3 separate regions of the Homo sapiens genome follow, and all the other regions are linked to region 3. The links are contacts of gene promoters, found by promoter capture Hi-C in blood cells and fetal thymus (Javierre and others, 2016). All regions are on one chromosome and are shown on one strand. Each heading gives the region's core, a stretch centred on a gene start or on the middle of the fragment in contact. The rest is flanking DNA. Distances are from core to core; before and after follow the strand shown.

Region 1 (3,006 bases), core at 129-2,628, 1.2 Mb after region 3:
TATCTACAAACAAGGATGTTCAGGCACAGAGAGGCTCAGTACATTGTGCAAAGTCACACAGCTACAGAGTTGTGAAGCCGAGATTGGAACTCAAGCAATAAGGCACTTTGATGGCAGGCACCTTAATGGGGGGTGGGGGAACACCCTTTACCAACAACCATGCAAATGGCCCAGGTGCTCCTGTGACCCCTGATCCCAGGGGCTCCACCAGAGCACCAGAGAGAGAGGGATGTGGGAAGAGCAGAGGACAGAAGAGGACACGTGCATCTAACCACTCGGAGGACAGGAGAAGGCACCCTAACCTTCTGAGCTGCCATCTTCCAATCAGGAGGAGGGGAGCACTGGATACATAATCTCAAGGCTTTCCCTACAGTTCTCTCAACAGGACAGACAGGCAGGGGTGCACAGTGGTTAGAGCACAGGCTTTTTGGTCAGACAGAACTGGGTTAAAGATCAGACACGTCCACTCACTCTCAATGAGTCCATATCTGTAAGCCTAAGCTTCCGTCCTCACACATGTTGATAAAAGAAAAAGAAAAAAAAAGGCCAAGTGCAAAGCTTTTAGCATTGTTTCTGGTTCAGGGTATGGACTTAATACTGTTTTCTATCATTATAACCACACTAAAGGCTCTGAGAAGTCCTGCAGGAAGGAAAACTACTTGTCTTTATCTCAGCCATCCCCAAGCTAGCTGCCCACAGAGCCACCATGGAGCCCACAGCTCTGTCACCCCACAGGGCCCATGTGCCTGGCCCATTCATGTTCCCTCACACGGGAGCCTCAGGCCCCAGTGGAAACAGACTCAGGAGACAAACCCAGGCCTCCTGCTCCCAGCTCCCCACTCTGTCCTTCTGCTTCTACATCCAACTACCCCCAAAGCAGTTTCTACAATCCATAAACAAAAGAATTCAGAGACAATTCTCCAGGGCTCCCAAGACGACATATTTCATCTGTGGCTTCTACAGTGCTTATTTGTCAGTTTTACAGACCAGAGGCAATTAAGAGTCTAAGGCCGAGAAGGCTGTTTTTAATAATTCTGTCATTATTCTCAATTTTCAGCACCACCACACATGAAAAACCCATTTCCAATTCCCTTAAAGGTGTTAAATGGTTTTTGCACTGTGTTGCAAAAGTTTGCCGTCCGCCAAACTGCTACAAAGTGGGCTTGTAGCGTCCGGTCCTGAGCTGTGGGAACGACTTGGTCGGGGCTGATCCGCTGGAGCCCAGCTCTTTCCCCAAGCGTTCAATTCCCAGCACATGCCGCGTGGGTCACTGTGGATTTCAGGGTGGACTCACCGCGCTGCTGGGTGTTGCAGTCCACGCGATTTCACAAGACTCCATGCAGGACACCTCCACCCGGCCCAGGCTCAGGCAGGATATGAACAGGAAACCACTGTTTCCTGCCGATCAACACCCAGGAACTGATGAAGTAACCCAGTGCCCAGCCCCTCTGACAGCCACAGAGCCAAGAAGAGGGAAGTGAGGTGGCATCCAAGGCAGCCCCTGAAAGAACTAAGCAAGGCAAGTTCAAGGGGTTCAGGGCTCTGCAGCAGCTGATGGGGAGCAGGGAGGAGCATTCCGTTTTCAGGGCATTGAAAGTCCTTGAAAGGAGAAAATTTTATAAGGAATGACAAGGCCTGGATGCAGAAGGTGGGAGACCCCTGCCCTTGATAACCGTCATAGTTACCAATGACAACTATGATAAAGAGATGACTTTCTGTGGCTCCCACTTGCTGCCCTCTGTGGTTCCAGGCACATCACAGAGAACTCTTCATTTTCATGAGGCCCCATAAGGACATCCCTATTACTATGATCCTTATCAATATCCTGATGTTACAAATGAGGGAACCAGGACACAGAGACGCTGAGGAACTTGTCTGAAGTTACATGGTGGAGACATAGCCTGGGACGCAGCAGTGAGAGGGACAGACGAGCCCTGCCCCTGTGCACCAAGCCATCTGCTGGGGACGCAGAAATCAAACAGCTCGTGGCTGCCCTTGTGCCCAGCGCTGTGGGCATGAGCGAGCTGCTTTGAAGAGACAGCGTGGTGACCTGCCCTGCTGGCCCAGGCAGCATCACACGGCAAGAAGGCGGGCTTTGAAGGGTTTTAAACAGAGTCGTGTTCCCACGTCTGCAGTGAGAGGGCTGCAAGCCTTTGTGTTTTTCACACGGTGTTACACAGCGTTGGGGTCCACGGACCTGCCTCGGAAGCTGCTCATGGGCAAATGGACGACCACGGGTGGGGAAGGAAATTTCCCCCAAACACACACATGCTTCACCCAGAGCAGCCAAGCTGTTTGTGTGTTTGTGTGTATTCACGTGTGTATGTGTGTGTGTGTGTCTTATGCCTAATGGTTCATTGAGTTTAAGGATCTCTCAGCTCCCTTGCAGCACAAATGTTTCATAATTTGGTGGTTAGCGCGCAGTGACCAGGCAATACAGGTTCATCAAAATGCACCAATGAGACAGAGACAGGAGAGGATGTTTTGGCAGCAGACAGACATCCAGGAGGCCTAGCACACCCCCATCCCCCGGCCCCAACCTCAGAGAGATAATCAGGGGAGCAAAGGGCATTAGTATGAAACGACCAAAGAGACTTAGCGAGCAACGTCAGACTCCCTGCAACACGCGTGCTGATGGGACAGAGGGGGAGTTATTTTTATACTTCAGAAATAACCAAGCATTCTGCATGCCCAAAGCCAGTTTGGGTTTTAAATACCTTTCATAATTTTTCTGACTATGGAGGTAATACATCCTCAGGGCATAAAATTTAGAAATTATAGAAGAGTATTTTTAAAAATCCAACCATTGAGCAATAACCATTATAAAAATCTTACTGTTTTCCTTTCTTGTCATTTATCTAGGCTCATACAGATATTTGGGGCTTTTTTCACAAAACTAGGAAAATGTTAAAATATATATTCTAATATTGTCTCGATTTTATTATTAGATTTATCATAACCATAAAAGATTTGAACACTTTTAACGACAGCGTATTATTCCATTTC
Region 2 (3,089 bases), core at 163-2,662, 1.3 Mb after region 3:
ATCCCCTCAAATCCCTGCGTACACCTGTGTACCTTAGATTGCATATGTAATCTGTCAGCTCTGAATTAAAAAACTAAGATATCAAAATTAAGTTCAATGGGGGTAGTTACAAAGTTGTCAAGAAGTTGGTAATTCTAGCTAAGCAGAATATTTAAAACACCTCTGAGAGCTTATTTACTGTGATTTGATCTGCTCTGGTCCACAACTGAGCTTTGATTCTATTACCTTGTGTTTATTTTTTTCAGGTGCTTTCCACCGCACATTTAAATCTTAATCCCATATTTTTAAACAATTAGTGCCTTTTAGATAAGAAATTAAAATGTTATTAAAATATAATTTTAAATTTTGATTTGAAGATACCTATAAAAGTTTAACTACACATACAATTCAACTTTTAAAAATTGATCCGACACAAATATTAATCCAAAGGTGGTTTGCTGCAGTATTATTTGTAATAGAAGTGTAGGCTCATCAGTGGAGGATTGAATTCCTCGGATGAAGTTAATCCACATGATTAAATAATTACGAAGCTGTTAGAAAGACCGAGCTGCATCTCAGTGCACGTGGAACAGTTTCCATCTCAGAACGCGAGCACGGGGAAAACACGCAGAAGACTGAGCGCCGAACACCGACGCCCTCTGCGAGCCAAGGGGCAAGGAGACCCTTTCGCGGCTGTGCCTGTCTCAGAAGGGCCTGCGATTTTTTACACAAGCACCCGCTGGCTGCATAAGTTAAACGGATCTCTTAAATGGAAGCGTCTGAAAGAGCCTAGGAATACACAGTTGGGTACCCAGCTCAGCACCCCGTCTCCGGACCTGCGGTCTCTCCCGCCCTCCGGCACCCGCACCCAGGAGCCCAGGCGGCCCTGCGCCCCCTGCCGGCAGGAGCCAGGCCTCACCCAGGAGTCGTCGGCCCGGCGCCCTGGTCCCCCGGTCCAGCTCGCCCCTGCAGGGCTGGCTGGAGCCGCGGGTCCCAGTGGCTCTGGGGACGCATAGCGCGGGGATGGGCTTCTCCTGGTCCCGCCCGCGCTTCCGTCCCTTCCATCCCTTCCTGCTCGCCTGTCCCGGGACCAGGGCCCCAGTCAAGGCAGCGAGTCTCCTCGCTGGCGGGGGTGACTCCGCTCGCGGGGCGTTCATCAGGAGAGCATAGCGCGAGAGGACGGGCCGAAGCGCGGGGACAGCGGGGACCCACTAACCTGAGGGCCTGGCCTGAGCCGCGCCCACAGCGTCCCCCTTGGCTCAGGCCTCGGGCGACCCCGGCGAGCGTTGGCGGGGGTGGGGGGGATGGGGGGGGCGGGACCTGGCTGGCGGCGACGCCGATTGGACGCACTATCGACCGCACCTGGCGCGGATTGGACGGGCGCTTCCCGCCTTCCGCCGTTCGCCGGAGGCGCTGCGGCGGTCCCTGAGGCGCAGAGTTGCGACGCTCGGCGGCATAGGGGGCGGCTCCACCGACACTACGCGGACGCCTCCTGCCGCAGGCAGGTTGAGCAGAGTGCCTGGGTGGGCTTCCCCCACGGCGGGGCGCGGAGGGAGGGTGGGGCTTCGGCTTGGCCTTTCAAGCCGGCAGGCGAGAAGCTTCCGACGGTTGAGGCGGAGCCGTTGTGGAAGCTGCCGAGGGGGAGGGGGTGCGGTTCTGCGGCAGTGGGCGGAGGGGAGGCGCCGAGGCTGGGCCAGGGCGTGGGCTGTGCAGAGTTCGCGGCGAGGGTGGCTCGCGCAGGCGCGAGGCTCCCCATCAGCACCTGCCTGGCCAGCCTCGGCCTCGGGGATGGGAAATGGGCGCTCGGAGCCGCCCCCGCGCGTGGGCGACTCGGTCAAGGTGGCTGAGGCGCGGGGCGGTGCGCTTGGCGAGCGGGGAGCAGGCCTGGGGCTGCGCGCGTCGCCGGCCCGAGGAGGCTGAGGGGTGCGGGAGAAGCGGTGGCGACGGGAGCCCTGGGGACCGCTGCTCGCCTGTCTCCGGGACATCTGAAGGGGGGTTGGCGCTGCGGCCTGGGGCGCATCTCGGGTGTGTGTGTGCTTTGTTGGTTCGGGGGTGACCCTGGGAAAAGGGTCACCGTGCCGGCGGTGGGAGCAGGGACTTCGCCTTCGGCCTCGTTGTTGCCACTGCCGGTTCCACTTAGGGAAGAAGGGAGTGCGCGCAAAACCTTCCTCCTGCTCGGCGCCTTCAGTCCCTTCTCTCCCTCCCGCCGTCCCCACCTGCGGCCTCTCCTTGCGGTTGAGGCCGCCAGCCCCTCCGCGCAGCTGGGCCTGATGCGTCCCGCGGCGGCTCAATGCGCGACACGTGGCTCCACGTGCGGCCTTTTCTGGACCGGGCTCCAGGCTGGCCGAGCATCTGCGAATACGGCAGCGTGGTTTTTTTTTGTTGTTTTTTTTCCCGAGACGGAGTCTCGCTCTGTCACCCAGGCTGGAGTTTAGTGGTGCGATCTCGCGTCACTGCAACCTCCATCTTCCGGGTTCCAGCGATTCTCCTGCTTCAGCCTCCGGAGTAACTGGGACTACTTGGCGCGCCACCACGCCCAGCTAATTTTGTATTTTTAGTAGAGACGGGTTTTCTCCATGTTGGCCCGGCTGGTCTCGAACTCCTGACCTCAGGTGATCCACCTGCCTCGGCTTCCCAAAGTGCTGGGATTACAGGTGTGAGCCACCTCGCCCGGCCTACATTTTTTAGTAATGATGGGAGGAGGAGGACGCCTTCCCTCCCCTTCATTCACCTTTAATGTCTTTTTGGACACCTTAGCTATGTTAGTTACCAGGGCAGAGGGGACTTTGAATTATCTACTGCTGCTTGCATTCATTCAGCAGTTTTTCCTTTGGGGGAAAATCTTTGCCTCCCCCATCTGCCAAATTGTTTTCTTTGTTGTTGTTTTTATCCGTAACGCTTTTATCTGCCTGCAGATACACAATCATCATCTTACTAGTTCTCTGTGTTGCTCGCTAACCAGTCCCCCAGTTCAGTAGACTGGAGCCCAGAGCCTGCTTACTTGTCAGGTAAATCCACGCTTCTCTTGAAACATTATTATTCTGTTCTCGGTTTCCGAAGTCGTTCTGTTACATAGTAGTAGTTCCTAAAGATCTTTTAAATTGTTTCCT
Region 3 (3,030 bases), core at 162-2,661:
AGTCCTTAGTGTGCGGAAGCCAGTGGGAAACTCCCACACACACCTGCTAGGATTGCTCTGTCGTCAGACACGCATGTGGTCAGCAGAATCACGACTCCCCAGAGATGTCCCCATCCTAATTCCGGAGGCTGTGAGCCTGGGATCTCACGTGGTAGTGGGGACTTGGCAGAGGTGACTGAATTAAGAGTCTTGCAACGGGAGATTATCCTGGGTTACTCAGGGAGGCCCAAGGTAATCACAGGGATTCTTACAAGTGGAAGAGAAGGATGTAGAGAGAGGTGGATGTGACCAGTGACCCTCAATGACCCTGGAGGACGGCACAGAGATGCTTCACGGCTGGCTCTGAAGACGGAGGAAGCGGCCAGGAGCCAAGGAGTGCAGGAGCCCTGAGGAGCTGGGAGGCACAAGGAGACAGATTCTCCCCAGGAGCCTCCAGAAGGAACCCACCCTGCAGACACCTTGATTTCAGCACAGGGACTGGAGCTGGACTTCTGACCTTCAGAACCACAAGATAATAACTTTGTGTTGTTTAAGCTGCTACATATGTGGGGATTTATACTGCAATAAGAAAATAATACAATTTGTAATCTAAGTAAATTCCTCCTGGAAAAGGCAGTGTGGGAGATAAAAACATACAGACAAAGTCCCCTGCCCATACCGAGTGATCTGGGGCATGCCTTCTAACTACCTTAGGCTGCAGGTCTCCTGACAGCGTTAAATGAGAAGACACATTGGCACATGGTAAGTCCCCCCAAACAACAGCTCCTCCCCTCCTTCCTGGCCCCTGATGTGGGGGTTGCCAGGAAAATGGCCTCGGGGAGCACATACTGGGTCAAAGATAATTAAATAGGGATTTTTGGTTGGTTTGTTCTCTTTTGTTTAAGAACTGAAAGCAGACACCAGCCAGAGACAATACCGGAGGCCACCAGGAGAGGGCAGCCCAGAGCCCGGGCAAAAAGGCACCAAAATTCTGAGCCTTTTGACGAAAAACCAAGGATTTTACCAGCCCAGCTTGCCAGACACCACAGTCCCACTCTGGGGACTGAAGGAGCCTGCAAATGCCATGAGGTTTTACAAGAACACACCGGGGAGAACTTTACCGCCCTTGACGGAAAGAAGCTTCATTCGGCTTATGGTATTTTTTATAGTGGAATTCACTTGGAGGAGAAATTACTTCTTCAAAAAGTCAGAATAATAGGCACACTTTTTGAAAAGATGAATGCTTGCTTGCTCTCTCTCTCTCTCTCTCTCAGTTCATGATTAGTCCTGGCATCTACTTAACCCAGCTTTCAAAGAAAAAAGAAAGGAAGGAAAGGAGGAAGGGAGGGAGGGAGAGAGCAAGGGAGAGAGGGTGGAAGGAAGGGAGGGAGGGAGGGGAAGGGGAGGGAAGGGGAGAGGGAAGAGAGGAAAGGAGGGAAGGAGGGAGGGAGGAGAGAGGGAAGGAGGAAGGAGGGTGGGAGGTAAGGAGGTAAGGAGGAAAAAGCCCTTTCCTTTATCCACCTCCATTTGCAACATAAGAGAAGTCACAAAATTTCCACATTTTGAAATTAGTGTCATGGAGCACACAATACAGGGATGCACACACCAAATACACTTCCTTTGAACTTGGTTATGAATTTCATTGTGATTTTTTAACACTGCAGGGTAGAATTAGAAAAATCATTATTTCTGAAACAAAGAAGCCACAGGTCTTGGAAGCTTACACCAACCCAGTCGCCACGCAGTCCCAGAGTGGAAGTGACCCTGCGCCCAGGAAGGCCACCCCTGGAGGCAAAAGCGTGCAAAGGGGCTTCGCCGCAAGGGGTTTTGGCAGAAAACGGGAACCCACGTGAACCTCGGAAAGCACCACATCTTCAGACTGTTTCAAGTTATACCAAGCACCTTGCTCTCTCTCAGCTTAGAGTACGAGATCTCTGCAGACACCCAGGACCCCGACATGGGCAGAAAGGCCACGGCAGCCTCAGGACCAGCTCTCACGGCATCAGCTCAAGAGAGGCCGTCAGGGAGCCCCGCCCCGGCTGGCCAGCTGCACAGTCGTGGCACTTTCTCTCAATCTGTAACCGGCCTCACTAAGGTTCCTGGTGCCCCATGTCACAACGTGAGTGTTGACAACAATGGATCCGTGCATAAACCCAGCTCAGATGGAACGTGCTCAGGGCTTCCAGGACCAGCCGGACTCTTCTCTCTGCTCCCTCTCTGCCCGGCTTCCCCAGCGCTGGCAGAGTCTAAAATCCGAGAGAGAGCTCGGCTCTGGGACTGCTCGCTGCATGCTCAGAATTGAAAGCTCCCACTGGCATCACAGAAGCCGCGGGCTCTTCTAATCCCAGGGCTGGTTTTGCAAACCCCCGGTGTCGAGAGTTTAGACCCACTTCAGTTGAGCCTTATACATGAGCAACTGCAACCAAGCACTTTCTGACACACTGAGGGCCTCTGTTTACTGCACATACCTGTGTGCCTGGTCACTGCTGGTCTTATGGCTGTGGCCCTGAACATCTGGGTCCGATCCTGTCTGCACGTGACAGTGGTGCTCTAAAACCATCTTCTTTAACATTAATTTGGAGATAGGAATGAGCTAAGTGCCTAGGACTGCACAAAGAGGGAAAACAGAGCAAATCTCCTACCCTTAGGCCAATCTCCAGAACTCACCGATCATCAGTTACTGATCCATAAAATGAGAACAATTTTACCTCCCTGGAAGGGCTTTTGTGAAAGTTAAATGAGATATCGTATACCAAGGACTGGACAGAACATAATGTTATTATATTATAATTCTGCAAAGCCTCATGCTCCCTCATCTGAAGACTCATTAAAACACATATTTCTCAAACGCAAAACCTGAATCTTTAAGTCACAGCGTCAGTGAGTTCACACATCCTCATTTCTGTAGCTGGTGCATGCACTGCCTTCTACAATGAAGGGGGTCTGCTTAGTGGCAGTGAGCATAGAGAAGCAGCGGTTAGGAATCTTGCAGGGTGGGAATCCTGATCCACTGACTTAGGAATCACTGACTTAGGAATCACTGACTAAGGA

What was found. The method cuts DNA at HindIII sites, captures the fragments that hold promoters and counts their contacts. A CHiCAGO score of 5 or more calls a contact.
Region 1: a contact is called between the fragment with the promoter of LINC02910 here and a fragment that was not itself captured in region 3, in 1 of 17 cell types (endothelial precursors). The highest score is 5.9, in endothelial precursors.
Region 2: a contact is called between the fragment with the promoter of SYCP2 here and a fragment that was not itself captured in region 3, in 1 of 17 cell types (total CD8 T cells). The highest score is 6.0, in total CD8 T cells.

Annotation. Positions count from the first base shown.
Region 1 is chr20:60,054,297-60,057,302 of GRCh38, reverse strand. It overlaps LINC02910 (long intergenic non-protein coding RNA 2910), which reads right to left and starts at 1,378. Exons shown (of 4, transcript NR_161293.1): 1 at 1,295-1,378. The HindIII fragment of the contact is 13,245 bases long and covers 561-3,006 here.
Region 2 is chr20:59,931,960-59,935,048 of GRCh38, reverse strand. SYCP2 (synaptonemal complex protein 2) reads left to right here and starts at 1,412. Exons shown (of 45, transcript NM_014258.4): 1 at 1,412-1,480; 2 at 2,895-2,987. It also overlaps a transcript of FAM217B not described here. RefSeq lists a silencer at 722-1,121. The HindIII fragment of the contact is 1,592 bases long and covers 1-1,579 here.
Region 3 is chr20:61,261,186-61,264,215 of GRCh38, reverse strand. All of the region lies in intron 2 of CDH4 (cadherin 4), which reads right to left. Among named protein-coding and RNA genes, the nearest start is that of CDH4, 10 kb to the right of the region's middle. RefSeq lists an enhancer at 1,461-1,972. The HindIII fragment of the contact is 579 bases long and covers 1,122-1,700 here.